Linked DNA regions of Homo sapiens: regions 2, 3, 4 and 5 are each linked to region 1. The links are contacts of gene promoters, found by promoter capture Hi-C in blood cells and fetal thymus (Javierre and others, 2016). All regions are on one chromosome and are shown on one strand. Each heading gives the region's core, a stretch centred on a gene start or on the middle of the fragment in contact. The rest is flanking DNA. Distances are from core to core; before and after follow the strand shown. Region 1 holds the start of ZNHIT6 (zinc finger HIT-type containing 6). Region 2 overlaps C1orf52 (chromosome 1 open reading frame 52). Region 3 has its middle 9.0 kb from the start of BCL10. Region 4 has its middle 28 kb from the start of BCL10. Region 5 overlaps DDAH1 (dimethylarginine dimethylaminohydrolase 1).

Region 1 (6,076 bases), core at 3,577-6,076:
TAATCCCAGCACTTTGGGAGGCCAAGGTGGGTGGATCACCTGAGGTCAGGAGTTCAACACCAGCCTGGCTAATATGGCAAAACCCTGTCTCTACTAAAAATACAAAAATTATCTGGGTATGGTGGTGGGCACCTGTAATCCCAGCTACTGGGGAGGCTGAGGCAGGAGAATCACTTGAACCTGGGAGGCGGAGGTTGCAGTGAGCCAAGATAGCACCATTGCCCTCCAGACTGGACAACCAGAGCGAGACTCCATCTCAAAAAAATAAATAAATAAAACGAGTTAAAGGACTACCTTCAGAGAGATAAAAAGGGATATTAGAAATATGAAGCAAAATAAGCTACAGACAATGGTTATGAAAAACATAGTGACTGAAATGAGCTTAGTGGATAGGTTGACTAACAGATTGCATACCATCAAATACCAAAATAGTAAGGTAGAAATTACTTGGGGAACTCTCCCAGAAAGTATCTGGAAGCAATAAAGAGATGGGAAACATAAAAGTTAAAAGGTATGCAGAAAACTCTGATAACAAAACCTAACATTACAAGAAAAAAGAACTACAGATAAATAAACATCCTTCATAGACGAAAACTCCTAAACAAAATGTAAGTTAATTGAATACAATTATATAGAGATATTATAAAACATTTGAGTTTATTAAGGTTGCAGGATATGAAATCAAAATACAAAAATCAATTGTATTTCTGCAACCTAGCAATGAAAAATCCAAAATGAAATTAAATGAGTAATTTCATTCAAAATCACATCAAGGCCAGGTGTGGTGGCTCACGCCTGTAATTTCAGCACTTTGAGAAGCTGAGGTGGGCGGATCCCTTGAGCCCAGGAGTTTGAGACCATCCTGGGCAACATGGCAAAACCCCATCTCTACAAAAAATACCAAAAAAAATTTAGCTGGGCATGGTGGCATGCGCCTGTGGTCCCAGCTACTTGGGAGGTTGAGGTGGGAGAATAGCTTCAACTCAGGAGGTCGAGGCTGCAGTGAGCCATGATTTTGCCACTGTACTCCAGCCTGGGTGACAGAGGGAGACCCTGTGTCAATTTAAAAAAAAACAAAAACCACATCAAGAATAAAATGCTTAGGAATAAATTTAGCAAAAGATATGTAAAAACTTGTACACTGAAAACTACAAAGCATTGTTAAGTGAAGTTAAAGACAATATAAATAAATGGATGGCATTCCGTTTTCATGGATAAGACACAATGTTGTTAAGATGACAATCCTCCCCTCACTTATCTATATATTCCACACAATCCCTATGAAAATCCCACAAGTTCTTTTGTAGAAATTGACAAGCTGGCACTAAATACACAGAGATGCAAACAACCAAGAATAGCCAACACAATTTTCAAAAGAAAAGAAAGTTGGACTTACTATAAAGTTATAATAGAGTATGGTATTTGTGTAAGGATAGACATATAGATCAGTAAAACAGAATATAAGGTCCAGAAATAAATCTTTATCTTTGTGGTCAATTGATTTTTTTAAATATCAAGGCAATTCAAGGAAAAAGAATAGGCTTCAACAACTGGTGCTTGGACAATAAGATATCCATATTAAAAAAAAGAAACTTAAACCATTACCTTGTCCACCTTATGGATGATATCCTTAGTTCTGCCACATGTGGGTTCCACCAACCATGGATCAAATTTCCACAGCTGGTGGAACCTACAGATGTGGAACCATGGATGCAGATGGCAGATTGTAGGACTTGAGCGTTCTCAGATCTGTGGTGGTCCTGGAACCAATCCCCACAGAAACAGAGGGATGACTCTAGATACAAAAGCCAACTCAAAATGGATCACAGACCTAAATGTAAAAGCTAAAACTATAAAACTTCTAGAAAATATAGGAGAAATATCTCTTTGCAACCTTGGGCTAGGCAAAAAGTTATTAGTGTGACACAAAAAGCACCATTCATTTAAAAATTGAGAGGCTGGGTGCAGTGGCTCACTCCTGTAATCCCAGCACTTTGGGAGGTGGGTGGATTACCTGAGGTCAGGAGTTCGAGACCAGCCTGGCCAACATGGTGAAACTCCATCTCTAATAAAAATACAAAAATAATTAGTCAGGTGTGGTGGCACCTGCCTGTAGTCCCAGCTACTCGGGAGGCTGAGGCAGGAGAATCACTTGAACCCAGAAGGCGGAGGTTGCAGTGAGCAGAGATCCCGCCATTGCACTCCAGCCTGGGTGACAAGAGCGAGACTCCATCACAAAAAATAAAAATAAAAATTGATAAACTGGATTTAATTGAAGTGTAAAATTTTTGCTCTTTTAAAGATACAACTAAGAAAAGGAAAAGCCACAAACTGGGAGAAAATATTTGCGAACCATACAAGGAATTGGTATTAATTATGCATTGCTTTGTATCAATTATCCAGAAATTTGGCAGTTTAAAACAAGAAACATTTATCCCCTCCCACAATTTCTGAGTGTCCGGAATCTGGGTTCAGTTGTTGGCCAGAGCCGCAGTCATGTAAAGCTGGACTAAGACTAGAGAATCTTCCTCCAAACACATTCATATGCTATTGACAGGCTGAAATTCCTTGCTGATTGTTGGCCAGTGCATTCGTTTGCCAAGGCCACTATAATGAACTAGCATAGACTGAGTGACTTAAATTTATTTTCTCACAGTTCTAGACGCTAGAACTCCAAAATAAGTTGTCACCAGTCTTGTTTTTTTCTGAGGCCTCTCTCGCTGGCATGCAGGTGGCCACCTCACTGTATCATCGTATAGTCTTTTCTCTCTGCAGGCATCCCTCGTGTCTCTTTTTGTGTCCAAATTTCCTCTTCTTATAAAGATATCAGTCAGATTGGATTAGGGCCGACCTTAATGGTCTCATTTTAACGAAATCACCTTTAAAGGTCCTATCTCCAAATATACTCACAGTCTAAGGTACTGGGTGTTACGGATTTAACACACGAATTTGAGGGGACACAATTCAGCCTGTAAGAGCCAGTAACTTCGGCCCACTACCACATGGGCCTCTTGGTACTCACAACCTGGCAGCTTGCTTCCCCCAGAGTGAATGATCTAGGAAGGAGACCAAAAAAGCAAGAGCCTAAGGCAGAAACCACAGCCTTTCTCCAAACCTAATCTTAGAGGTAACGTATTACTTCTGCTGTATGCTATCAGTGACACAGACCAATCCTGGGATGATGCAGGAGCAGTCTACACATTGGTCTGAACACTGTGGGGGTGGAGAATCACTGGGGAACATACTGGTGCTTGTCTACCACAAACCTATATCCATAATATATGAAGAACTACTACAATTTGATAATAAAAGACGTCAATTAAAAATGGGCAAAAGATCTGAATAAACATTTCATTAAAGAAAATATCCAAATGGCCAGTTGGCAGATGAAAAGATGTTCAACATCATTAGTCATTAAAGAAATGTAAATTCTCAATGACGTACCCCTACACATCTATAATCAAATAACTGATAATACTAAGAATTGGCCGGGATGTAGAGAAATAGGAACCCTCAGCCAGTAGGAATGTAAAATGGTATAGCTACTTTGGAAAACAGTTTGGGCATTTCTTTAAAAATTAACATAAATTTATATGGCCCAGCAATTCCACTCCTAGTTATTTACTTAACGGGAAATGTAAACATGTCCACACAAAGACTTGCATATGAATGTGGAAGCAGAATTATTCGTAATAGCCCAAACTGGAAACAAGCCAAATGCCCACCAACTGGTACATGCATGAAAAAACGTGCCACATTCATACAATGCAATGTTATTCAGCAATACCGGGCATTAGGCACTTTCGCCTAATATATTTATGATGTTCTCTGAGAGAATCCTGCAGAATGCTGGGAATGGGGAATAGCCTGACGCAGGCTGTTACTTAGAAAGAATGGAAAGAAAAATTAATGCCCTCTTTCCTACTTGAAACCCATCATGATTCCCAGTTATACACTGAGTTTGTGTCTGTCACTGACAGTTGATTCCTATGCATGATCTCATATTATCTTCGCAATGACACTGGGAGATTTATATTAATAATACCATGCTCCCTAGTTTATAGCTTCAAGAAACTAAAGCTTGCAAAGGTGTAACATCAGGTGTGTCCTTTTTCATACAAGATTGGATTTAATGGTTAACACAGATAAGGGTGGGTTTTCCCATTTCCAGAGTGTAAGGGTTTCGCTTCTCTCCCTCTGCCGGTCTCCTCCACTGTTTACACCCAGTAGGGCGTGGAGGGTGGCCTAGGGTGTGGCCCAGGAGGCTTCCCTAAGGGAAGGGGGTGGTGGAAACCAGGCGGTTTGAAGCCCATCAGGATTCCCAGTTATATATCGAGTTTGTGTCCGTCACTGCTAGTTGATTTCCATGCATGATCTCATATAATCTTTGCAATGACACTGGGAGATTTATATTAATAATACCATGGTCCCTAGTTTATAGCTTTAAGAAACTAAAGCTTGGAAAGGCCTAATAACATCAGGTGTGTCCTCCATTTTCATGCAAGATTGGATTTAATGGTTAACACAGATTAGGGTGGGTTTTCCCACTTCCAGAGTGTAAGGGTTTCGCTTCTCTCCCTCTGCCGGTCTCCTACACTCTTTACACCCAGCAGGGCGTGGAGGGTGGCCCAGGGAGTGGCCCAGGAGGCTTCTCTAAGGGAAGAGGGTGGTGGAAACCAGGAAGGAGACGAGAACCCCAGCGGGCAAGTCACGCAGTTACGCTTGTTCGCCCAGAGAATCCGGCAGGGCCTCCGCAGAGCCGTAAAGAGCTCTACAAGTCGTGAAGGGGCGAGGCGCAAAAGCGTAGCTTTACGGCGATTCGAGCAGTCGCGTCAAGCAGGCTATTCCGGGTTTGTGGCTGCTTGGCTCCACACGTGGGCCGCCGTAGGTATTCCGACCGGTAATTCCTCCTATTGGTGTGCAGCAGCCACATTGAAGGATAGAGTGGCAGCAGAGGCCAAGGATCGTGAGTTGATGGAGTTTGCTGCTGAAAATGAAGGGAAGTCTGGGGGAGGTCTCCACAGCGTAGCTGAGGGGGTGCGGCTAAGTCCAGAGCCTGGCAGGGAGGGAGTAAGGGACTTAGCAGGGGCGGAGGAGTTCGGCGGCGGAGAGGAGGGGACAGGGCTGACAGGGATAAAGGAGATAGGGGATGGAGAGGAAGGAAGTGGACAAAGGCCAGAGGAAATACCGATGGACCTAACGGTAGTGAAGCAGGAAATTATAGACTGGCCAGGTACAGAAGGCAGGTTGGCTGGCCAGTGGGTAGAACAGGAGGTGGAGGATAGGCCTGAGGTGAAGGATGAGAACGCAGGCGTATTGGAGGTGAAGCAGGAGACGGATAGTAGTTTAGTGGTAAAAGAAGCGAAGGTGGGTGAACCAGAGGTAAAGGAAGAGAAGGTAAAGGAAGAGGTAATGGACTGGTCAGAAGTGAAGGAAGAGAAGGATAACTTGGAGATAAAACAGGAGGAGAAGTTTGTTGGTCAATGCATAAAAGAGGAATTGATGCATGGAGAGTGTGTAAAAGAAGAGAAGGATTTCCTGAAGAAAGAAATCGTGGATGATACAAAGGTGAAAGAAGAGCCTCCGATAAATCACCCGGTGGGCTGCAAGCGGAAACTGGCCATGTCAAGGTAGGGCATGGGGGATTCCATTTAGGGGAATAAAGCTGTGGAGTCCTCATGTCTAGAGTGAAGGAAACCACACTATCAGGAGAAGGTGGAATAATGAAAAATGAGCACAAGTTTGGGTTTCTGGAGTCAGACGGCGTTCGCGGGGGTGGGTTGGGAAGTGGAGGGTGTTGTACATGACAACACAACAAATTCAGTGAAAATACATGAAATTAGTAGTGTCCAATGGGTAATGGTCAAGTTAGGAAAGTGGAAATTCTGGGGACCAAAAGATCAGTTGGAACTGGATCTGGCTTGACTTAATATGCTCTTTACTCGGTATTCCTTTGAGAGAGAATAGAGATGAGAAAGTCTAATAAAACTAACAATGACAAAGTAGATTAAGTTAAAACTAGGCAAAAATACACTTGACCTCAATTATCAAGCTTCTTCATGGGTGCTGTGAATAT
Region 2 (6,076 bases), core at 486-2,985, 450 kb after region 1:
AAACAAATACAGGCAAAATCAAATAACAGACCCATTTTTTAGAAGTGATTTTCAGATTCCTATAAAATCAATTATGTCATAATTTTTTAGCCTTTCTTTTTCATTCATAAAATATATATCAGAAACTCTACACTCTTACCCAGATTTTAGATTAGCAAGTGACTTTTTTATTTTGCTTCCCCATTCTGCCCTTTGGCCTTTTATTGCCGGTTAACGTCTTCCAGTTACTTTAGAGGAAGGGCTGGGAAAGGTTCAGAACTCATCATTGGGTCTTGCTGCTTATCAGCCCTTCGGGTTTTTTTTTTTTTTTGAGATGGAGTCTCGCTCTGTCGCCCAGGCTGGAGTGCAGTGGTGTGATCTCGGCTCACTGCAACCTCCGCCTCCCGGGTTCAAGCGATTCTCCTGCCTCAGCCTGCCAAGTAGCTGGGACTACAGGCACACGCCACCACGCCCAGCTAATTTTTGTATTTTTAGTGGAGATGGGGTTTCAGCATGTTGGCCAGGGTGGTCTCGATCTCCTGACCTCGTGATCCGCCCGCTTCAGCCTCCCAAAGTGCTGGGATTACAGGTGTGAGCCACCGCACCCTGCCACTTCTGGTTTTAGTGGTTGTAAAATGTAGGTAAGCAAAGCTTAGTTATTAGTTGTAGCTTTATTGACATGTATAATAATTAATTGTAAAAGCATAATTAATATAGTGATTTTTAGTTTACACTTTTTAGAATTTAGAAAGTTTGTCTATTGATAAGTTAAACTTACTTGAGTGATTTGAGTTCCATAATAAAAAAATTGTTTCCTTACCAGTACATCTATACTATATGAGACCGAGTAAAAAAGCTCAGTAAAATTGATAAATGAACATTGCTCAGATTTTTTCCTACTCTAGTTTATAAAGCAATGCCTTGTCATGACACTAGATGGCATAGCACTTCTGCTCAAATCACTGATAGCCAGTTACTTTTTAACTTCAGTAGTTTGTGGTTTTGTTATTCAGTTAATTTACTTGTAATAAGTGGCAAATTAAAAGCAAAAATATCTCAGTATCATCTAAATGTATGCTAATGCATAGTGAATATTATAGTAAACTTAGTACTTTCCATTTTTATATTATCACTACTGAAAATCTCAAAAGAGGAGCTTAGTGATAATTAACTCGTTAAAAAGCAAAAGGTGCCGGGTGCGGTGGCTCACGCCTGTAATCCCAGCACTTTGGGAGGCCGAGGTGGGTGGATCACGAGGTCAGGAGATAGAGACCATCCTGGTTAACACCGTGAAACCCCGTCTCTACTAAAAATACAAAAAATTAGCTGGGTGTGATGGCAGGCACCTGTAGTCCCAGCTGCTTGGGAGGCTGAGGCAGGAGAATGGCGTGAACCTGGGAGGTGGAGATTACAATGAGCTGAGATGGTGCCACTGCACTCCATCCTGGGCAACAGAGCAAGACTCCATCTCAAAAAAAAAAAAAAGCAAAACGTTTGGCTTGTTTTGGTGGTATACCATGTTATTTGGTTTGTGGAGCCAGTGTTTTTGTATGAACATGATGAACTACTGATTAAAACTTTGATTTGTAAATTCCTGGGGTGAGTTGATCTGAATTGTATTTTATTCCACTGCCTACATAAATCCATAGTGCTCTGTGAAGCATATGAATAACATCACCGTGCTGTGCTTGAAGGGGAGTGAAGATGAATGGTATTGATTGTTATCTGCATCAATAAATGAGATATTCTGATTATGGTACAGTCAGCAGAAGGGAATTGAAGGCTTAAGATTTTAATATTTCCTTCAAGGAATTTATGATTTGATGTCAGTAGTTCCTCACATTTTTTAATAATGAAGGCTCCTTTCAATATCAAGATATTTTATAGATCTCCACATGATAACCTGTTGAACTTTTTGAGTATCTGTTGATCAAGAAAATAAAGTCAAAAGCTACAATTAATTAGTAATGTGCTCAAAATAAATTTGTATTTTATAAATCATAACATCTTTTCCATGTTACTCTGTCTATATGGAGTTCTTAATACCACACATTTGCTTAGGGAGATGGAATTAGCAACTAGTCTGTGCTACCCTGTATTTTTTTTTTAACCATGTAGTTGGATTTTTTAAAATACAATAAAAGAGTTCACTTTTCCAGGTTTGACAACATTTTTATGAATTGGAAATTTTCTGTGGCTACAGATACTATTAACATTTTGGAAAGGTGTAAAGAACATTGTTTTAATGTAAGGCTCTTCTCTAACCTCCCTCCCCTCTCCAAATTCTCCATAATATGAAGTAGGAAGATATGTATTTTTCTGTTGCCATTAAAATGTTCTGGCCATCGTGGGAGTGGGGATGGGGAGGGCGGGGATGGGAATTAGAACTTACTAGAATAAAATTCCAAATAGAGGTTTGGGGAAACCTACTTGTGAGTGCTTTTTAACCTCAAAATAAGGATTTGGGGTGGGTGGAGAAGGTGATGGGGCAGAAGAAGTTGTTTTTGGAGGAGAGAAAGCAGATTGAAAGGAAAAGGACAGCTGATAGCCACTTAAATAATGTCATCGTTAGAGTGATACCTATTTTTTGTAAAAAGAAAACAATATGCTCCATTCTTACAAAGCATTGATTGTATTTTAATATATACAATGTAAATACTATCATGCAGTGGTGTCCAAGGGAGAGAATACAGTCATGAGTTCTTAGTTTCTGTTATTGGTTGGGCCAATAAAGCCCCTTCATCATCCTTCTTTTCTGCTTATCACTAGAGACAGAAACTAAAAACCATGGCTTCAGGCTGCTAAAAGCCTAAAACAAAACAGAACAACAACAACAAATAAGGCAGGTTGGACAAGCTTGCTGAGTATTTGGGAGCCTTTTTCAAAAGTCTGATTTGGGGGAAGTAAAGTCACTTATTTTAAGCTACCTTAGTATAGCACCTAAAGAGTTACTTTGTGAATTTTGTATGGCTGCAATTGAAAAAAAAAATTGCTCACTTTCACTTGCATTTAAAAATCAGAGCTCTAAAAGTTAATTCTTGTTTTTTATTGGGAAACTCTGAGAGAAACATTAATTGATGAGGGTAATAATTTTGGTATAAAGCCAGTGAAATTTTAATGCTTAACATGTTGGGTTTTTTAAAATTACTGATTGAAACTCTTCCTTTTCTATTTAAAGATGATGAAAAAGATGAGCATACTTCTAAAAAGCGCAAAGTAGAGCCAGGAGAACCAGCAAAGAAGAAAAAGTAGAAACAAATGACCAGAATTTCTGTACTGCTAAACTTGTTGAAATGTTTCTTTGGACAGATTAAGTTGATATTGTGGGTTATTATGCCACATCTCCATGAAAATGCATACGTTAATGAACTAATAAGTATTGCCTCAAGAACTTTCCACTATAGAATTCTTTTTTTATTTAAAACATGTATGTATTTAAAACTCAACTGGTGACTTGTGATTGTGAAATTGATAACACTTGGATGCATTCTTGCTCTCACAGAATTGGTGACATGCTTTGAGAGTTTTGTCACATGTTGACATGCCAATGTTCTTATAAACCTTTTATAAAGGAATATATTTTTAAAGTAAATATATTGTAATGTACTGTGAACTTGTAGGGTGCTTTTCAACAGTCTTTGTACAGTGTAAATAGATCATGGAAATAAAATTACTTATTCAATATTACTATTACTGTATAACATTAACATTTGAATGTTTGTCTGTGACAAGTACCCTATTTGTCGTGTGACATTTTAAGTTGTAATAAGAAGTATTACCATTTAAAGAGTGCCTCCTGTGTTCCAGGTGCTTTGTGCATATATTTTCTCTGATCCTTAAACAACCTAGCGCAAGGTATTATTAGTATTCTCATTTTATAATAAAGAGTGCTTGAGTAGCTTGTCTGATGTTACACAGCTAGTGAGTGGTTCATTTGGAATTTAACTTGGGACACTTGAACCTCAAAATCATCACATTAAACCACCTGTCCACCAGTCAAAATTTAGTCATCTTTCAGGAATGACATCAATTGTCATCTCTTCCAGGTACTTTTTTCTGTTGTACCTGGAGATCCGTTAGTAGAGATCTTTTCCTCTCCTGATTGGATGACTGTACTTGTCATCTGTGCTTTATGGTTATTCATTAATTTCTTTATTAAATTGTAAGTTTACAGGACATTCAGTTAAATTTGAATTTCAGATAAATAATGTTTTAGTATATTTAATATTCAGGACATATACAAAAAATGTGTTTATCTGAAATTCAAATTTAACTGAACATCTTTTATCTGGTAACCCTACTTCTACATGTTTTCTCTACCCAGCTTCTATTTTAATGCTTTGCGTATAGTAATAATAAAATGAACAAGAAGTAGTTGGGAAGGTGTGATCGTTGAGTTCCAAAATGCAGTTATTTGTAGCATTTTGAACAATAAAAAGGTTACACTCTGCATCAATCTTTCCATGAATCTGAAGCCCTTAAGAGATAAGAATTACAGAACAGTGCACATTCAGTGTATAAGAACAAGACAGCCAAGCATGGTGGCTTATGCTTGTAATCCCAGCACTTTGGGAGGCCAAGGTGGGAGGATAGCTTGAGGCCAAGAGTTGGAGACCAGCCTAGACAACATGATAAGACCTCATCTTTACAAAAAATAATTTAGAAAGAAAAAGACATAATCTAAGTATTTTTTTTTAAATCTGTTTTTCCCCATTGTGGAAGATAAAATTTGAACAATTACGCGAGATTTGTTTACCTAGGCATGTGTATCAAGTAGATTAAAATTCATAAAAGTCATTAAGAGTGATTGCATCAGCCATGGTGCTTTGTGGAATGAAGGTCCATAACAGCATGATGGCTTCCAGTATATCATCGAGTTTAGAAAAACCAATTCTATAGCTGCCCATCCTCCAGGTTTGCAAATATATGAATCCCAAAATTGAAGTAATTGCTAAAGCAAGAATATGTTTTTTTAAGATTGTAGTCTTTGTAATGAATTTGGAAATCTGTGGTATCATATACTAAGGAGTGGCATCAAGTGACAAAGCAAGACCATAGTATGTACATGACACCAAACACAACCAAATCAAGTTATATTTGTGAAGTTGTGATTCCCAAGCTCTGGAGAAATCTAAAATTTGGATGCATGTGTTGGTGGAGCAAATATCTCAGAAGTTACTGAAATATTGCAAGGTTCTTAAGTTAGCATGAAAGCAAACTTTTTTCTCTCTTTCCTGGGAGATGTGCAGAGTATGTTGTATGAGGAGGAAGACAGGACTTAGGGAAGAGGCTAAATATTTTGGAGCAAGTCTGACTCAGCCATTTGTATCTCCTGGTTGGAAAACGGACTGTCATATCACTCTACATTCATCATCACATTAGAGAATAGATTATTTTCCCCTTTAGAGATGTCCTGGGAACGTGTTTGCACAAGTGTCCATGTGGGTACTGAGGTGAAGTTTGGTTGAGCTAGTGGAAACCTAGTGGGGAAAAGTCTTAAAAATCCATATACATAAGAAAAATCATCTGTCCAAGTATCTTTCATTTTAGAGAATCGAGTCACTTGATACTTCTGATTGTTTCCTGCACTTTAAGTTAAGCCTGGGCAACATGTTGAGATCCTGATCTGGTTTGGCTGTGTCCCCAACCAAATCTCACTTGAATTGTAATTCCCACAATTCCCACGTGTCATGGGTGGTGACTGAATTATGGGGGTGGGTCTTTCCGGTGCTGTTCTTATGATAGTGAATGAGTCTTACGAGATCTGATGGTTTTAAAAACCATCAGTGCAGGGAGTTGCCCTGCACAAGCTCTCTGCCTGCTGCCCTCCACATAAGATGTGTCTTGCTCCTCTTGCCTTCTGCCATGATTGTGAGGCTTCCTCAGCCATGTGGAACTGTAAGTCCAATTAAACCTGTTTCTTGCAAATTGCCCAGTCTCTGGTATGTCTTTATCAGCAGCATGAAAATGGACTAATACAGTTAATTTGTACCAGTAGAGTGGGGTACTGCTGAAAAGATACCCAAAAACGTGGAAGTGACTTTGGAACTGAGTACAAGGCAGAGCTTGGAATGTTTGGAGGGCTCAGAAGAAGACA
Region 3 (6,076 bases), core at 2-2,501, 420 kb after region 1:
AGACCCCCATCTCTACAAAAAATCAAAAAAATTACCTGGGCATGGTGGTGTGCACCTGTGGTCCCAGCTACATGGGAGGCTAAGGCAGGAGAATCACTGGAGCCCAGGAGGTCAAGGCTGCAGTGAGCCTTATTCACACCACTGCACTCCAGCCTGGGTGATGGAGTGAGACCTCGTCTCAAAGAAAAATAAAAATCACTAGACCAATCACATCACCTTCTGGCTTTTGAGGGGTTTTTTAAGAGACAGAGTCTTGCCCTGTCACCCAGGCAGGAGTGCAGTGGCGCAATCATAATCACGGTAGCCTTTAACTCCTGGGCTCAAGGAACCTTCCTGCTTCAGCCTCCCAAGTAGCTAGGACTACAGGTGCAGACAGGGTCTCATTATGTTGCCCAGGCTGGTCTCAAACTCCTGGCCTCAGGTGATTCTCCTGCCTTGGCCTCCCAAAGCACTGGGATTACAGGCATGAGCCACCATGCCCAGCCACCTTCTCATTTTTTAATTACCTTCTATGACTCCCTCACCACAAAACACACACACACACACACACACACACACACACATATATAGTTTGGGTTGTGCTTGCTTGAATACCTTGCAGGAAAGAAAACATTACTTCCCAATGCAGCTCACTCTAGAGAAGTTTAGGTTTTGTTTTGTTTTGTTTTGTTTACCTTATATTGACTCTGACATTAAAATTTTTTTATAACCTAGGTGATAGGTCAATAGGTGCAGCAAACCACCATGGCACATGTCTACCTATGTGACAAACCTACACATCTGGCACATGTATCCTGGAACTTAAAATAAAATAAAATTAATTTTTTAAAAATCATTTTATATTTTCAGTTTGGGGTTATCCACAAATTAATAAAAATACTTTCTGGATAAGTGGCTTTCAAACAATGCTCTATAAAGCCCTTGGTGCTTTGAGGAAGGACTCAGAAGTAGTGGGGCAGGGTGGGTGGGCAAGACAGAAAACTTCTACAGACCCGGTAGACAGAGCCTTGAGTTTAGTTTCCACAGAGAATTTTATTGGAAGAAAGGGTTGCACAGTTAGAAAAACATTTGAAAACCCCTGTTCCAGATATTCATCCCACAAGTCATTATTATAAATGTTGAATCAAATAGAGGTGAGAGCAGAGCATTAAGATACATTTCCCTGCATACTGATGGCAATCACTGTGTCTTGGGTATGGCAGGAAAGCCAGTTGCGAACCAATCTCATTGTTCCACATGGACCCCCAAGGCTTAAGAAGGACCCTGTAAATGTCTCCCTGAAGCTGTCAAGAGTGTGCGTTTCTGAGTTTCACCATTCGTTGAGATCACTGCTTTTCAGCCCTGGATCTGCATTAGAATCAACTGGGAAGTTTTAAAACTACCACTGCTCCTCGAGAAATTAAATATCGTTACCACGCGACCCAGTCATTTCACTCCTAGGTATATACCCAAGAGAAATGAAGACCCAAGTTCAAATGTCTGAAGGCCACATCCCTATATACCAGCTGGCGAATACTGGGGGAGGAACTAGATGTCCCAATTTGCAAATGAATTTTTATAATATTATTCATAACAGCCATATAGCCATATGAATAGCATTATTCATAATGGCCAAAAATATGTGGAATTAATCCAAATCTCTCTCAATTGATGATTGCATAAACAAAATGTGACATATTTATACAATGGAATATTATTCAGCCATAAAAAGAAATGAAGTACTGATTTGTGCTACAGCATGGATGAACCTTGAAAACATTGTTAAGTGAAAGAAGCCAGACACAAAAGGCCATATATTGTTATCATTCCATTTATATTAAATGTTCAGTATGGCAAATCTATAGCAATAGAAAGTAGACTAATGGTTGTCTAGGGATAAGAAAGATGAGAGGATTAGGGGTGGTGGCTACAGATACAACTATCTTTTTGGAGTGATGAAATATTCTGAAATTGATTGTGGTGATGGTTGTAGAACTCTGTGAATATACTTAAAACCACTGAATTGTATACTTTAAATTGTATATGTATAAACGTATACTTAAATTGTATGGTATGTATATTATATCTCAATAAAACTGTTATCACAAAGATAATAACTACCACTGCTTTGGCTTCCACAGAATTTTTGTTAGGTAAAATATTTTATTAAAGAACAATTTAAATATATATAAAACAAGTGTTATGGTTTGAATGGGTATCTTCAAAATTCAGGTGTTGCCAATATGACAGTATTAAGAGGTGGGGCTTTTAAAAAGTGATTAGGCCATGAGGGCCCCTCCCTTAGGAATAGAATTAGTGCTTTTATAAAATGGCTTCATGTAACGAATTCATTCCTCTTGCTCTTTTTCTACCTTCCACCATATGAAAACTTAGCATTTCTCCTCTCTGAAGAATGCAGCAATAAGGCATCATCTTGGAAGCAGAGCGCAGCCCTCACCAGACACCAAATGCCGGTGCTTTGATCTTGGACTTTCAGCCTCCAGAACTGCTTGAAGAAATTTTCTCTGACCCCACACCCTTGGGGCTAGTCTGGAATACAGGCCTTTCCTTCATATTTCCAAGACATAGCTCTGTTTGCTTCTGTGATCTTTGAGAGTGAAGGCACCTCTTCTTATTCATATTCCATTCTTGGTCTTTCTATATACAGTGTCCCCTTAGCAGCAAATACCTCCTTTAAATGGAGGAAATTCTCTGGCACATACACTAAAACCATGGCTTCTCCCCAGTGAGAGGGCTGGGCTTTGGAAAGCAATAGAGACGATGGTGGAAGTAACAGCTCAGTACTTATAGCTAGCAGGCACACATCCTCCTCCCTTCACTTTGGATTTTTCCAAAGAATTTTTTAAATTGATCTAGGTGGGACTTGGATGTCCATTCCCAAGTGATTCTATTAAATAGCCTAGACTGAGAACCACTGACTCCAGTCATGGGAATGGGAAGGGAAATGATTGATTTTGAGGGATGTCACCCTCAAAGAATATTAAAGGAGTAGCTCTTGAAAGCCTAGATGTTCCCACTCTAGGCTTTCAAGAGCTACTCCTTTAATATTCTTTTCTGAGGCTGGGCACAGTGGCTCATGCCTGTAATCCCAGCATTTTGGGGGACCAAGGCAGGTGGATCACTTGAGCCCAGGAGTTCAAGACTAGCCTGGGCAATATGGTGAAACCCCATCTCTACAAAAAAATACAAAAATTAGCTGGGCATGGTGGTGCATGCCTGTAGTCCCAGCACCTTGGGAGGCTGAGGTGGGAGGATCACTTGAGTCCAGGAGGTTGAGGCTGCAGTGAGCTGATGTCATGGGATCCTGTGGGTGTCACTTCACCAGCCGGAAACCTGTGTGGCCAGTGGCGCTTTTCCCTGAGTTTTTACTTAGGCCCGCTGGGCTTGTTCCACCCAATCAGCCTGGCAGGCTGTGCTCAGCTTGCACTACTGGCCTGAATCTCATGCCTGCCAAGGGAGAGCCAGGCACAGAGCAGCAAGGGGTGTGTGAGTGAGCAAGCATGGTGCCCGGCCACTGAGCACAGCCAGGCACACTGGCTGTGGTGGGGCAGGCAGTTCCAAGCACCAGCACAGGCGCCAGCTCCCTGTGAGGCTGTGGCTGGACCAGGTGGACCACAAGCAGCTTCCATGGCTGGCACTGAGGAACGCAGTGGAACTTGGAAGCTTGGAGATGCCGGGAACCACAGAGCCCCAGAGAGGGTGTTACAGCCCTGGCTTGGGGAGCTCCTAGGTCTGGGCTCCCAGAAGGGCTGCAGCTCTCTCTCCTTCTTGTTGCCCACAACGTGGTAAGCAAGGGGTGTATTTCAGACCCATTTGTGTTATAGCTCTTTTAGCCCAGGCATTCAGCGCATCCCAAGTTCTTGTCCTGTGTCTAGGAAGAATGAGGTACGCAGACAAGTGGAGGGTGAGCAAGTCAAAGAGGAGTTTGATTGAGTGACAGAACAGCTTAGAGGAAACCACAGTGGGTAGCTCCTCTCCACAGGCAGGTTGTCCCAATAGTGTTCAGCTCTCAGCAGAGGAGACCCTAGAGTAGGCAGCTCCTCTCCACAGGCAGGTTGTCCCAACAGTGTTCAGCTCTCAGCAGAGGAGACCCTAGAGTGGGCAGCTCCTCTCTGCAGCTGGTAGTCCCAACTTATGCCCAGCTCTCAGCAGAGAGGAGATCCTGGAGCAGGTAGCTCCTCTCCAAAGGCAGGTCATCTGGTCATCGGAGTCTGGCTGAGTCCAGGGGTTTTTATGGGCTTCAGAGGGGAGGAAGTACATGCTGATTGGTTCACGGGTGGCAATGGGTGGGCCTGAAAATAGCACCATAAGTTCCCATTCTGGCCCATCAGCCCCACCACCAGGCTTTAGGCCATCCCTGGCTTGAAGGTGAGGCTTCACCAGGGACCTGCCCCTTTCTGCCCAGGAGCTTGTCTGCCTCCTGCCACTGCCCAAGCTATTTGTGTTGAGGGGCTCCTGCAGGCCCATGCTGAGCCACCCTCAGTGCTCCCTCAGCCTCCCTCCTGTGCTCGTCAGTGCCCAAAGCCTGGAGGGGAGCCAAGGCGGCAGGGGTCTGGCATGTCAGTGCTGCTCTGAGCATGCATACACCTGGCTGGGTTGCAAGAGGGCCTGGGCTTGGCCTCAACTTTGCTCCAAAATCAGAGTCGGCACCGGGAGTGGGGAGAGACCAGGCAACAGGAGCAGGTACTTCTGAGCCTGCAGGGGCAGGGAGGCTTCCCTGGCCCCCAAGAGATGCCCGGGTCCACAGCCATGGCTGGATGGCTGCAGCTGTGCCTGAGAGGGCAGGGCTCCTGCCTGATTCTGGCCCCCAAGAGCACAGGGATGTCCAGGTCTGGAGCTGTGCCTGGGCAGCTGCAGCTGCACCCAGGGAGCACAAGGCTCCCGCCCTGCCAACTTGGAAGTGGGCAGGGCTTCCACAGTTCCCGGCTCCTCCCAGCCCTGTAGAGCTCGCAGCCCTGGCCACGCCTCCCCCACTGCAGCCAGTGTCATGATAGCAGCCACTCCAGAAGGGCCACCCACGCCATCACCAAGATTGCAACACTGAACTCCAGCCTGGGCAACAGAGCAAGACCCTGTCTCAAAAAAAAAAAGTTATTTTCTGGAATTATGCTTGCCATCGAACCCCACCTGGAGTTTGCAAATATCATCTTCCTCTTTCTGAGACTTGCATTAGTTAACATTGCCAGTCTTCAGCTACTCTCATTGTTGCACAGTGCCCTTCATGGATCCTAAGCTGGAGCAGATACATCATTTGTGAGGCTCAGGATATAATGATTCAGAGAATGCTCAAGCATCCTAGCTTCTCTGAATCATTATGTCCTGAAGCACTTAGCTCAGTCTACAGCTAGTAATTAAGAACACTGGCCTGGCCGGGCGCGGTGGCTCACGCCTGTAATCCCAGCACTTTGGGAGGCCGAGGCGGGTGGATCATGAGGTCAGGAGATCGAGACCATCCTGGCTAACAAGGTGAAACCCCGTCTCTACTAAAAAAATACAAAAAATTAGCCGGGCGCGGTGGCGGGCGCCTGTAGTCCCAGCTACTCGGGAGGCTGAGGCAGGAGAATGGCGTGAACCCGGGAAGCGGAGCTTGCAGTGAGCTGAGATTGCGCCACTGCAGTCCGCAGTCCGGCCTGGGCGACAGAGCGAGACTCCGTCTCAAAAAAAAAAAAAAAAAAAAAAAAAAAAGAACACTGGCCTTATTATCAAGGCTGAACTGGAATCCCGGTTCTGCTACTTGGTGGGAGAATGACCTTGAGCAAATCATGTTTCTAAGCCTCGGATTTCTCATCTCTAAAGTGAGGATAATAAAGCCTACCTGTAAGGACTGTTATAGGCATTAAATTCCCACCACAGATGTAAAGTGCTTGGCTCAGAGTGAATGTGAAATAAACTGCTAGTGATTATTTCTTCCCAGGGAGTTGTAAGACTGGGAGATCTAGCCCCTCCTCCAATATCCCCCTGCTGGCATATAGGTATGCAACCTCCAAACATTCAGGACTCATAGCAGGTGCCTGCCTGCACTCTTCAAACCAGTCCTCTAGGGGGAAGACAAAGGGAATGATCCCTTATCTCTGGT
Region 4 (6,076 bases), core at 2,273-4,772, 400 kb after region 1:
CCTTCAACAGACAATAAAGTCCACTCACACTGGGAGTGGGAGGGCTCTGTTTTCCTCAGTCCACTCATTCACAGGTGATCTTAACCAGAAACACCCTCATAGACACACACAAAATCACCTTAATCAAGTATCTGGGCACCCCATGGCCCAGTCAAGTGCACACATGCAATTGCCCTCCCAGTTGGCAGTAGCAGCACCTGTCGGCCACGCTACCTTCTGGTTGCTTGTGCCAGGCTGCTCTCCCACTAGACAGTAGAGGCTGAGGGCAGAAACAGCCTTTTCTAGCACAAGATCCTGGTATCTAGCACAAGAACTAACACAGGAAATGGTAAGTGCTCAGGATGTTTTAAAACTGCAAAAATGGACAAATGAACAAATGCACATACCTGGGTCCAATATAAAGAAAATACAGGCCAGGCACAGTGGCTCATGCCTGTAATCTCAGCACTTTGGGAGGCCAAGGCAGGTGGATCACTTGAGGTCAGGAGTTCGAGACCAGCCTAGCAACATGGCGAAACCCTGTCTCTACTAAAAATGCAAAAAGCAGTCGGCCATGGTGGTGCACACTTGTAATCTCAGTTAGTTGGGAGGCTGAGGCAGGTGGATCACTTGAATCCGGGAGGCGGAGGTTGCAGTGAGCCGAGATTGCACCAAGCCATATAGTAGTTGTCTCATTATACATCTATGTCCTTTATAGAGGACAGTGAGCTCCTAGAGTTAGGAGCCAAGTAGGTCACTGCATCCCCAGTGCTAAGTATGATGTTTGACACATAGTTGGTGCTCAGTAAATATTTGGTGACCCAGAGATGAATAGACCCATCAGTGAGGGAGAGAATGAAGCCAGCCAGCTGTCTCCCCAGAGATGGGGCGGGCTCAGATTCTCATTTGGAGCTAACTAAGAGTTACTCTTACCTGTGGTCAGGATCAGAGACAGGCTTTTACAAACTGGTATCCTGATATTCTCTTCAAACAGATTTGAGAAACCTTTGTAAAATTCCAATCTTGCTGCCTGTCACCACAGTTATCCAGAAACTGTCAAAACCAATAGGACTCCTTGGGGGGAAAGCCAGGAAGGCTGTACAATTACTGCTGTCTGTCAGGAGACTATGACAGCACCTTGGGCCCTTCCAGGGGAGGATGAAAGTTCTGATTTCTTCCTACTGGAGGTAAAAACAAGAAAAAAAAAGTTCTGATTAGGTGGACTCTGTCACACCTAGCAAGCCTGCTGGGCTGACTGGAGAGCTGCCCTAATGCTGGGAGACAGGTTTCCAGAACAATCTGGAGCAGAGTGAAGAGATCCGGCTCGACTTAATTGTACTTACCTACTAAAAAGTCTCTGCTGCTCAGAAAATGCAAGAAAGAGAAATCTACCTTTTGGGTTTCTGTGCCTCAGTTTTGCTTGTAAAAATATTAACAATGGGCCAGGTGCGGTAGTTCATGCCTGTAATTCCAGCACTTTGGGAGGCTGAGGTGGGCAGATCATATGGTCAGAAGAGCAAGACCATCCTGGCCAACATGGTGAAACCCCGTCTCTACTAAAATACAAAAAATTAGCCAGGCGTGGTGGTGCGTGCCTGTAGTCCCAGCTACTTGGGAGGCTGAGGTAGAGGAATCGCTTGAACCCTGGAGGCAGACGTTGCAGTAAGCCAAGATCGCGCCACTGCACTCCAGCCTGGGTGACAGAGCGAGATTCTGTCTCAAAAAAATAAAATAAAATAAAATAACGAAGGCCCCACGGAGAGTCACAGGCAAGTGAAGAGAAGCTGTTGGGTAGGTACAGAGCTTTCACAGAAGCTTAGGGAGCACAGCAACCCCCAGCTCCTCAGGTGGGAGGGAAAAGCAAACCTCTGGTTAGCCAAGTTTTCTGCCAGCTCACAGAGACCGTACTGGGTAGCAATGAAGATGTGGGACCTAGAATCAGAGCTGCTCTCAAATCCTGGCTCTGTCATTTACTTGCTTGGCCCATTACTGTGGTAGCACCAAAGGGAAGCTTGGAGGGATGTTAAACAGCTGTGACCTCCATGAGTTCCCAAGCTGTCCCAAGTGATGATAATAATCATTATCGTGATGGACAGTTCTCACACTTATGTAAAGTATAAATATAACCATATGAGAATTTTTTGGTATTTTTTATCACAATCTAAGTTAATATGTGTGCTTTTCATGCAAACACAGCATCAAGGCAATTCCCTGAGCAGTGCCCCCACCACCCCGTCACCACGATAAACCCCTCCTCTATGTGAATTCTGGAGCCAACACTGACAAATCTCCATTCCTCTCTAAACCTTGGTTTTCTTCTCTGTTACAGCAATAAAGGCTAATATAGTTATTGAGTACTTTCTGTTTGCCAGGCACTGAGCCAGATGTTTTTATGTGAATTATCCCATTTAATCCTTACAACAACAGTATGAAGTAGGTCCTTACCATTCTGTGCTTCAGTTTCTCAAAAGATAGAGACAATAATACCTACCTCCTGGGATTGGAGTCGGGGCTAAAAACAGAAGATGCATGTGGGATATCTGGCCCTGGTGGTGCTCAATGGTACAGTTCTAACAGTTGTAATGATTACAGTGATGTTGGAGAGGCTGCAGGTGAGGAAGTGAAGCAGGAAGAGGAAAAAGATGAGGAAGATGAAATCATGGTTCCTGGTGGGCAGAGATGCCAGCGTATACTTAGACCCTCCCTCAAGTGCTCATCCACAGATGCTGTCCCTCCTGACCATGAGACCTGAAGTGTCTCAGCAGCGTCACCATGCTTGGTTTTATTCATCCACACTCAGCTGAAGTAAAGAGGGGGCCTGCAGAGATCTATAGAGTAAGTGGGTCTGGCCTTGATGTCCCTGGCCTTGGCTGTCAACATCTTATTTCTCTTTTGGTGACACCCCCTCCCCTCAGAAGGGCCCCTCCCTAAGCAAGTTACTTACAAGGAGTTAGAGGGAGAGGGAAAAAAAGGAACAATCCAAAGTAGCCCAGGTCTAGGACTCCAGAGAGAGCCACCAGGTCAGGGAACATGGGAATGAGGTATGAGGTCTGAAGGCCAATAATGTAAGGACACAACAGTCTGGGCCATGTGAAAAGGGGCTAAAGGAGTGTGTGATCAAAATTGGTCATTGTCCAGCTATATCCACTCTCCCCTTCTTCCTTTTAGTAATAGGTTCTTGAAATTTTACCATGCACTTGGCCACTCAGCTGAAGACTACATTTCCCAGCCTCCCTTAAAGCTAATTTATAGTCACAGGAGTAAGTTCTAGCCAATGAGATGTGAACGGAAATGACATGAACAGTTTATAGGACACATCCTTAAAACAGAAGCCACATGCCCTTCCTCTCATTTCCTATCTCCCAATATGCAGAAACCCAGACCTGGTCCTGGTAAAGCAGCTTCAGCCAGGAAGACAAAGGCAATCCCATGGGGTTGGCGAAACCACAAGGAACCAGGCTTCCCAGTTCCCCTCACCCTGGGATGCTCACATATCTTGGAGTTTTTCCTTTAGGATTTTATAAACATCGATATTGTTTGCTCTTTGCATTAAAGCAGCATAACACGTGCCCATTTGCCAATTGTCCAAAATGAGTCTAAAATCCAGGTCCAAGAATGAGAATCCTCTGGCTAGAATCCCAGTCAGCATGTTACCAAATCCAGAGAAATCTTGAGGGCTTCTCTGAGAGGACATGGGACTGGTTTTCAGGGTTTCAGGGGAAAAAAACATAAAATTCTGAGGCTCAGATGCAATTTCTGGGCTGAGGTGCAAGGGGAGGTGAGCCACTCCCATGAGAAAGGGCAGAGAGACCCTCTCTCATCCCCAGATTGCTGGGATCAAGTTCAGGCCAATGCAGAGGACTGGCCTGAGCTTGATCTGGCCAAAGATCCAGTGTGCAACCGTGGGACAGCTCATTCCTGGGAAAAACAAGACCCAGCTTTCTCACCGTTGTATCCTGGCTTGCTCACCATCACATGGCCTGGCACACAGAAGGAGCTCAATAAATATTGATTTGAATATTGACTGAATGAATAATAAGAATTGTACATTTTGAGGTCTTCAAAACAACAACAGTTCTGGCAGCAAACACCAAGAGTTAGACACTCTAAAGGAAAGACAAGTGTTGGCCCTGCTTGGCCAGTTTCTTCATGGAACATCCCTCTGAAAACCCAGGGACTGCAAAGGCTCTTTAAAAAACAGACCTCTCTTTCTCTCTCTCTCTCTCTCTCTCTCTCTCTCTCTCTCTCTCGGCATCCCCGGGCCACTTCCCAAACTGTAGCAAACGGGGAGTTTGAGTACGTCAAAAAGCCCATGGATTTGGAAAAACTGATTTAGGAAGACTGACTAAATGGAACTGCCTTCTTTCACCACTCATTCATTCATGCAACAAAACTTTATTGAGAAAAGATTATAGTCTCTCTCCCCATCCGGAATGAGCTCATGTACTGTCCCAGGCTTTTCTCACAATCACAGCCTCTGCATACCTCCTAGCCTCCCCCTCAAAGAGTGGGTAGGCCATGGGGAGCACAGCCAGGATGCAACAGCTAGGAGCTACTTGAAGATGGAAGCAGAGACACAGTAATACCACAATCCAGGGTTGGAATGAAAATGGATTTCCCCCTGCCAGAATTGTCCTCAGCTACAAACCAACCTTGCTCCTTAGGCCTCCACTCCCCTCCTTCCCATCTGCTGAAGGATGAGTGGGGCTGCCCTTACTCTGAGGTGGCACAATTCAGAGTCCAGGCTGCTGCAAACCCCTGCACATGCTGCTGGCTGGAAAGTGGATGCAGAGATCAGATCAGAAGGCTTTCCTTGTTGGAGCCTGGACACAGGTGCTCATACTACCCACTGCCATTTGGAGTGCAGTGGCTGCTGTCTCCCAAACCCTCCTTGACCTTGGGCAGATTGGAACTGGGCAGTGAGTGACCTGAGGACCCAGGAAAGGGAAAGACTGGAAGGCAGGGGAACCAGCCCTGTGCCTGGGGGTTGGGAGAGGAGTGATAGAAGGGGTAGGAATGGGAAGTAAAATACCTAGGAAACCCTGCCTATTAGGGAACTGTGTCTGAAAGCTTTTTATCAGAAAACCAGTGTGTATGACAATGATGACGGTGACCACGAGCGTGATGTGGGGCCATGCGTGGTATCAGGAGAAAGTGATCATGATCCATCCCTCAGGACAGCCAGCAATGAGGAAAGATGAACTAAAACCCTCACTGGTTGTTTAAAGAAAATACAGATTTAGTTCTTGCTGGAGGAGCTGCTTATTTGTGGTTGACCTTATATTTGCAAAAACCAGGATGCATATTAAAAGAACATGTCAGGCTTTTGTAAAAAAATTTTATTTTGAACTTGTCTGAGACTTGCAGAAGAGTTGCAAAAATAGTACAAAGAGTTATATATATCCCTCATCACGTTCCACTAATGAAAACATCTTACATGACCATAGGATAATGATCAAGAACGAGAAACTAACATTGATACAGTATTATTGACTACACCACAGGCCTTATTTGAATTCCACCACTTTTTCTGCTAATGTCCTTTTTCTGTTCCAGAATCCTAACCAGGACCCCACATTACATTTAGTTGTCATGTCTTCTCATCCACTCCAGTCTGGAACAGTTCCTCAGTCTTTCATGAACTTGACACCCTCGAAGAGTACTGGTCAATTCTTTTGTAGATTGTCTCTTCATTTTGTAGAATGTTTTCTTATGATTGGAATCATGTTATGCATTTTTGGCAAGAATATCACAAAACTGATATTGTGTTCTTCTCATCACATCAAAGTGTTCATAATGTTGATGTGTCATTACTGGAGATGTTTACATTCATCACTTGGTTAAGCTGGTGTCTGCTGAGTTCTCCACTGTAAACATAACTATCTTTCCATTTGTAGTTAGTAAGTAGTTTGGGTGCAATATTTAGATTTTTAACAATCCATTATTTTCTATTGATCATCCTTCTTAACCTCTGCAGGTGTCTGATTCTCCAGTGTAGTATTCTGGTTAGCTTGAGTAGGTCACAGCCCCTTGACCCCAGATTGTCTTGAGGTCAATGGTTTTAGCAATGCCCAATAAATATTCAATGGGTATAGGT
Region 5 (6,076 bases), core at 2,027-4,526, 380 kb after region 1:
TGGTGGCAGCCTGACCTCAGGACACATGCTAGTGTGAAGCAGCCCTTCTACTGTGGGAACAGGGTTTTATTTCATTGACAGTGGCCCCAGGAAATCAGGTTTCATGCTCTGGGAAACACATGCTTCAGCTCCCTTTGTCCCAGGATCACCCTCCCCAGTGTGCAGTACAATGTGTGGGCTAGAGTTCTGGAGACCCTGCCACTCTACTGTGTCCAACCTGCATTGCACCCTGCAGCCCTCTGTTAGTGGGGCTCCAGGGATGTGAAGATACAGGGGTTGCTGGGTCCCAGGGCACAATGCAGTCTGGTGGGAAATGGGCTTTCTAACTGGCTCTCTATCTGTCCAGAACTAAGTGGGTACATGGGACCCGAGTGGGCTCCATCTCTGGAGCAATGCTGCCACACGGACCCCGGGAATACCAGTTTCAGGGTCCTTGGGGTTTGAGAGACTCTTATGACTAGGATTTCAGCAGTCAACATGGGAACATGTACCACTGGGAATCTCTCACTTACCCTTTCCTCTCACTAGGGACCCTCTCTGGGCTCCCAGCTGATTCCAGCCAGGCTGTCTACCTTGCCTCCCTCTCCTTCAGTATCTCAGGTGTTTTCTGTCACTTCTCTGCTGAATTCCAGCATTCTCTCTTAGATGTCTATTCAAAGTATGATTATCTACTTGCTATTTTGGCTCTTCTTTGCTGGGGAAACAGGTGTCCAGTACCTCTAGTCAGTCATCTTAAAGCCCCTCTCAGGCAGTGTTCATTTTGAACTAGTCTGTGGAAAGACTATAAAACATGAAAATATGCTATCAGTTTTAGAATGTTATCCATAGCTATATTGGCTCAGCCTTAAAAAGACCTCCAGGGCTTGATGCTGGTATGTTGTCAGGCTCTCAATACACTCTTGATGGATGGATAAATAAATAAATGATTTTAGATATGCAGTAGCAATGAAGAGTGTACTTGGGCATCATATATTGTATCAATAGACCATAGTCAGTTGTTTTTAATACTGGTTTAGCTTTGATATGTTAAGATGGGTACATTATGTTATATATATATATATACATATATGAATATAAAGATCAATTATGAGTGACCCAAAAATGTGCTTTGAATATTCCCTAAACATCTCTAACTACCTTTTATATACCTTTGCTTCAGAGTTTGACCAATAAGTTCTAAATTGTTCCATGAAACAACATAGCCCAGGATTTTTTAAAACATAATTACCATTATACAAAGAAAGCATGAGTAAGAAGCAAGAGAATGGAGTGGGCTTTCAGTCGTTTGGATGAGAAAATTCCCAGAAATGTTGGGAACTGCCGGAAATGCCTGGTTGTTAATGCAACTTGCCATGCAGATTCTCTTGGGCTGAAAGCCAGACAGTTCCCACTCTATTTTGTGACAGCTCCACCCTGGGGAACAAGGCCAATTCCTCCAACCAGCAGCTGCATAACAGACCATGACAGTGTGGCCACAATGATTCTCAGAGCTATTTCCTCCCTACAGCTGCGTGCCTTCTTCGTTAAGGAGTTGCCTATGATAAAAGTGAGGTTGACTGTCTTTTTACTGCTAGCATACTCTTCATGTGCTTGTCCTGCCTTAAATGATAGCTTTTCATCTCCTGAAGGCATCTCTTTCCCTTTCCCACCTCACACTGCCATTGTGCTGAGCCCGAAGGGGGCGTACCATAAAAGATTGTTGAACAGAGCTGACCACCAATTGATCTAATCCCCATAATAATCACTCAAATTAGTTTCCATAAAGTGGAATCATTCCTTTGGCAAAATTCAGAAAGGGCATTCGGAACAGCAACTTGACTTCTCAGATCTTTCCCCCAAATCCTGTAGAACTCATTTGTATCATTCAGAGTTGAGTCTGGGGCCTCTCAGGATATCAAGTAATCTGCTCTTAGGGAAAGGAATTTGTGGTGACGTGTGGAGGGTTTAGGTGTGTCTCCTTTCCATTCTGGCTTGAGACACAGTGAGAAGCAGGAAGTACAGTCCCTGGGGTTGGAAAAACACTACATACAGCACTGGAGCAGTACCACCTCCTCCATGCTTTTTTAGGAAAAAATGTTGGAACAGAACTAAACGGCCCAACAGCTGCATTCTCGGGATATTTGAAATGGTGCTCATCTTTTAACAAAGCCTCTGTGCATCCACAAAGGGGAAACAGAACCTGTTCCTTGGCCTCACTGTTGCTCAGTCCTCAGGAGCCTGAGCTCTTTGAGGTGATACCCTACCAGACAGGATGTGTTAACACATCCTCACAGTGCCCATTAGGGTGTAAAAAGGGAAAGATGTTCAAGAGCAACACAGCCTTCCTGCATCTTTCTCTGCATGTTCCCTGCTGAATGGCCAGCACCCTGTCTTGTGTACATACATGTGTCTCCTAAACCCAGCTACAAATAAATGGTAAGCTTATTCAGACAATAACAACATACAAGAGAAAGGAAAATAATTACTCCAACAGGAAAGGAGAAATCTGTTCTTTGCCTCGAAAGACAAAATCTCTTTGTGTTTATAATAAGCACCTTTAGCATTTTCAAGGGGGAAAAGCATATTTCTTGTTTGTTATCTACAGTTACCACTTCATACATCCCTTTTATTTAGAAAGGCTACACCTGACATAACTTTTGTAATTTTTTTCAGTTAAGCAGAACTACTCACTGCTCCAAATGGGGCCTGTTCATTATTAAAAGTCATTTCTTTGGGCATATTCTTAAATCTGTCTTAAAATGATAACCGTGGAGTCTTGATAAATTAATTGAAAAGCTTCTCCTAAGGTAGCTTTGTTGGGGTTTTGTTAAGACATTTATTTTAAGAGTAACTCTCAGTAGAATTTATCAATGAATTACTTCATATATTCTCAGCATTAAATTATTTCCCCACTAAAGATATTATAATTCCTTTCCTCCCAGTAATGAAAAATTGAAACTGTCCTCAAATAATTCTAAAGTAGGTACTGGCCTTTATGTTAGTAAGTATAGGAATGTCCCCACCAGAAGCTTTAAATGATAAAAAATAAGGCTCAGAAAAGGAAGAAGCATTAAAGAATGAAGAGTGATTACAATTTCAAATACATGCCAGTAACTGAAGAACAATTCAAATAGGAACCAAGTAGGGGAGAGGATTGTTCACTCAAGGAGGTGAGGTTGGGGGATAGGGCAGAGCATGGAAACAGCTGAAGTCAACTGGACAGGCCCTGTCACTTCAGTGACACGTGGTACTTTCTGAGATGGGCACAACCTTGGAGATTTTAGTTTGTTTCCTCACTGGTAAACAAGAAGTCAGCACTGATAACAATCCCTGAGAACACTTCCTCTGGAATGTATGACATTCCATGCTTTTGCTTTGTAGTCACCTCCGGACATGCATGAGTCACACTGAGAGGTGGGGAATTTGCCCAGACCGCTAGATCCAGTGAATAAAGTCAGGCCTAAGAGATGTAGTCTTGCCATGTTTCTTTCTCTTTCAATTCATCTGGTACTAAGAGACATGGGTGATTTATTTATCTGTGGGTAAAGAGTACAATGAAGCTTCTGCAGATCACAAATTAAAATGGAAAGCCAACTGGCAGTTATCTGGTGATTATGAGTGGTGGGAGCACTTAGCCTGAATGTGTGGGCCAAAATATGCCACACACAGTTTTCCCAATTGCTTAGAAAAGTAAGTCAATGTGAGTAATAGATTTTCTAGATTTTGTTTTGTTTGTGTCTAGGTTGACCAGGTAGCAGTGGTTGTGTATACATGTTCTAAGGATCTCTCTGAGGTCCTCAAACCACTGGGGTCCTACTTAGTAAACCTCTGGCTCAGAGAACTGCCTCCCCAGTTGTCTGGAAGAAATTCTGAACTTCTTGGGTAAACTAGGTCCAATTCATGTGACAGGATGACCGTCCAGTTCTGACTGCAAACATGAGCAGACTGGCCATCTTGGTCCACCCTCAACAGCACATAATAAACAGAGATTTAGACATAGTGGAATCCCATTCCCTGCACCTGGAAAAAAGCACGTTTGTGAGACTGACCAAAAGCTATTGTCTAGAAGTTTCACAAATCCTAACTGCCACCTTGCATATCGAGGCAGCCCCACTCTACTATGAAGAAGTCAATCTGCCCATTGGGTTTATGGACTATTTTACTAAATTGGGGTCACAACCTGACAGAGGCTTATGTGTTCGGTTTGATATACACAAAAGTTTTTCTTTTCTTTCTTTCTGTGAATGCCCTTAGGTGCCACATACTCTGCAGGTAATTCCAGATCCAACCCCCTGTTGTCTTACTTTGTCATCCAGAGTCATTTGAGTTAGGACCACAGAGTATAGTGCCCTTCTGTATGGCTTTGAAAAACAGACAAACCTTGGCCTTGTTGATTTTAGCCATGTTTTTTCACATTAAAAATAATGAGTTGTATTTCTGTTTCTGGACATAGACCATACCTTGTTTCTCTGAGGGAATTCAATTGTTTACCCATGTGATTGACCACACAGTTCATCACAGTGCCCTCCTGAGGTTCTCTGTAGCGTTTAAAAAGGTGAAAGGAATGAAGAAATGAACCAGTTAGTGCAAACATATTTTGGTCACCTGCTATATGTCAAGTGACTTGCAAGAAACAAAGAGGGAAGTGAACCGACTTTTATTACACATTTAATATCTGCTAGAAGCTTGTGCTAAGCATTTTATGTACATTATCTGTTTTGGGGTTTTTTTTAAATAATCTTCAGAGTTACCCTGTGGAGGATAGGTATAGCATTCCCATCCCATTTTACTGCTGAGGGAATTGAGGCTCACAGGGCATATGTGACTTTCCCAAAGTCACACAATTAGTGTGTGGCTGAGCAAGGCTTCAGACCCAGACCTTTCTGACTCTGAAGCCCATGCTCTGTCCACCTCATTATGCCTGGACCTGCATTCAAGGAGGTAGCAGTCTGGTTGAAGAGAGCAAAACTGCACAAAAACTCATAGTAAAATTTGTCCTTATTCCAAAAACTTTGGGAACTTTGTAGCAATTATCTCTCTAGGGGATCTAGGTAGAAGGGATGCTAAGCCTGCAACACTACTAGATTACATGTTAACGTAGGCCTTAGAAAGAAGGAAGCTGAAGAAGTAATTGTGAGAATATGGTAGGTCTAGTCTTTTATGGTTTTTAAGACTAAGGATTAGACTCCAAGACAGATTATCTGTGGCTCAGGCTGGAGTGCAGTGGCACTATCTCGGCTGGTGGCAACCTCTATGATCTTCCCACCTCAGCCTCCTGAGGAGGTGACTACAGGTGTGTGCCACCACACCCAGCTAATTTTTTTGTAGAGACAGGGTTTCGCCATGTTGCCCAGGCTGGTCTCAAACTCCCGGGCTCAGGCGGTCTTCATTTGTTCCCTTGCACACAATAATAAATGGAAGCTGCTATTATTGTGTTTTGGAAGCAGCCAAAAAGAAAATCTGCATAAGAAGAACTAAATTGCAATTCGTAACAAAAGAGCTACTTGGGTCTGTTTTTTTATTCTCTCAAGCGTCTTCATATTATTTCTGGGCATATCCATTTTATAAAGAGGGCTAAATTGAATATGTTGTTAATTTTCTTAGAAAAGTTAATCTTTAGGAGTGTCTTTAACTTCTTAATTGCCCACATGTTGGATTAGATCTAAGGTTTCTAATCAGGGCTGTAAAGAAAGACCCACTCCATAGGTGAGCCCCTCTATGGGCCTATCCCTTCAAGAACAATTTAAATTCAAAAGTGCAAGAGAGATGTCCAGTTAAGTCCTTTACCTATACCAGACGGTAGCAGGTCATAACAGGATTACATACAAGAAAAGAATTAATGGTACTGCCAGAGAATGAATAATAAGTATCAAGTGAATGTGAAAAAGTAGGTGTTATGTAGTTTGTAGGAGGTAGTTTCCTGCTGCAGAAGTTGAGAAAGAGCAAAGTGAGATGATTAAGAAACGTTTTGAGTTGCACAGATCTGGGTTTGAATCTACCTATGTGACCTAAAGCAAGTTATTTGACCTCTCTCAGTGCAGTTTCTTCATCTGTAAAATAGAAGTTTGAGATTAGATAATAAATGTAAAATGTTTGG

The links. The method cuts DNA at HindIII sites, captures the fragments that hold promoters and counts their contacts. A CHiCAGO score of 5 or more calls a contact.
Region 2: a contact is called between a fragment that was not itself captured here and the fragment with the promoter of ZNHIT6 in region 1, in 1 of 17 cell types (endothelial precursors). The highest score is 5.8, in endothelial precursors.
Region 3: a fragment that was not itself captured here is called in contact with the fragment with the promoter of ZNHIT6 in region 1 in 1 of 17 cell types (total B cells); the score reaches 5.5 in total B cells.
Region 4: a fragment that was not itself captured here is called in contact with the fragment with the promoter of ZNHIT6 in region 1 in 3 of 17 cell types (total B cells, endothelial precursors and naive B cells); the score reaches 9.3 in total B cells.
Region 5: a contact is called between a fragment that was not itself captured here and the fragment with the promoter of ZNHIT6 in region 1, in 1 of 17 cell types (naive B cells). The highest score is 5.1, in naive B cells.

What each region holds. Positions count from the first base shown.
Region 1 is chr1:85,707,183-85,713,258 of GRCh38, reverse strand. It overlaps ZNHIT6 (zinc finger HIT-type containing 6), which reads left to right and starts at 4,826. Exons shown (of 10, transcript NM_017953.4): 1 at 4,826-5,630. The coding sequence starts at 4,975. RefSeq lists enhancers at 3,903-4,735, 4,674-5,033, 4,736-5,569. The HindIII fragment of the contact is 1,595 bases long and covers 4,460-6,054 here.
Region 2 is chr1:85,249,784-85,255,859 of GRCh38, reverse strand. C1orf52 (chromosome 1 open reading frame 52) reads left to right here. Exons shown (of 3, transcript NM_198077.4): 3 at 3,158-5,907. The coding sequence ends at 3,231. Among named protein-coding and RNA genes, the nearest start is that of C1orf52, 6.8 kb to the left of the region's middle. The HindIII fragment of the contact is 2,205 bases long and covers 633-2,837 here.
Region 3 is chr1:85,282,559-85,288,634 of GRCh38, reverse strand. No RefSeq gene overlaps it. Among named protein-coding and RNA genes, the nearest start is that of BCL10, 9.0 kb to the right of the region's middle. The HindIII fragment of the contact is 4,829 bases long and covers 1-3,665 here.
Region 4 is chr1:85,301,123-85,307,198 of GRCh38, reverse strand. No RefSeq gene overlaps it. Among named protein-coding and RNA genes, the nearest start is that of BCL10, 28 kb to the right of the region's middle. The HindIII fragment of the contact is 3,059 bases long and covers 1,993-5,051 here.
Region 5 is chr1:85,326,410-85,332,485 of GRCh38, reverse strand. All of the region lies in intron 4 of DDAH1 (dimethylarginine dimethylaminohydrolase 1), which reads left to right. Among named protein-coding and RNA genes, the nearest start is that of BCL10, 53 kb to the right of the region's middle. RefSeq lists enhancers at 3,168-3,746, 4,222-4,391. The HindIII fragment of the contact is 531 bases long and covers 3,011-3,541 here.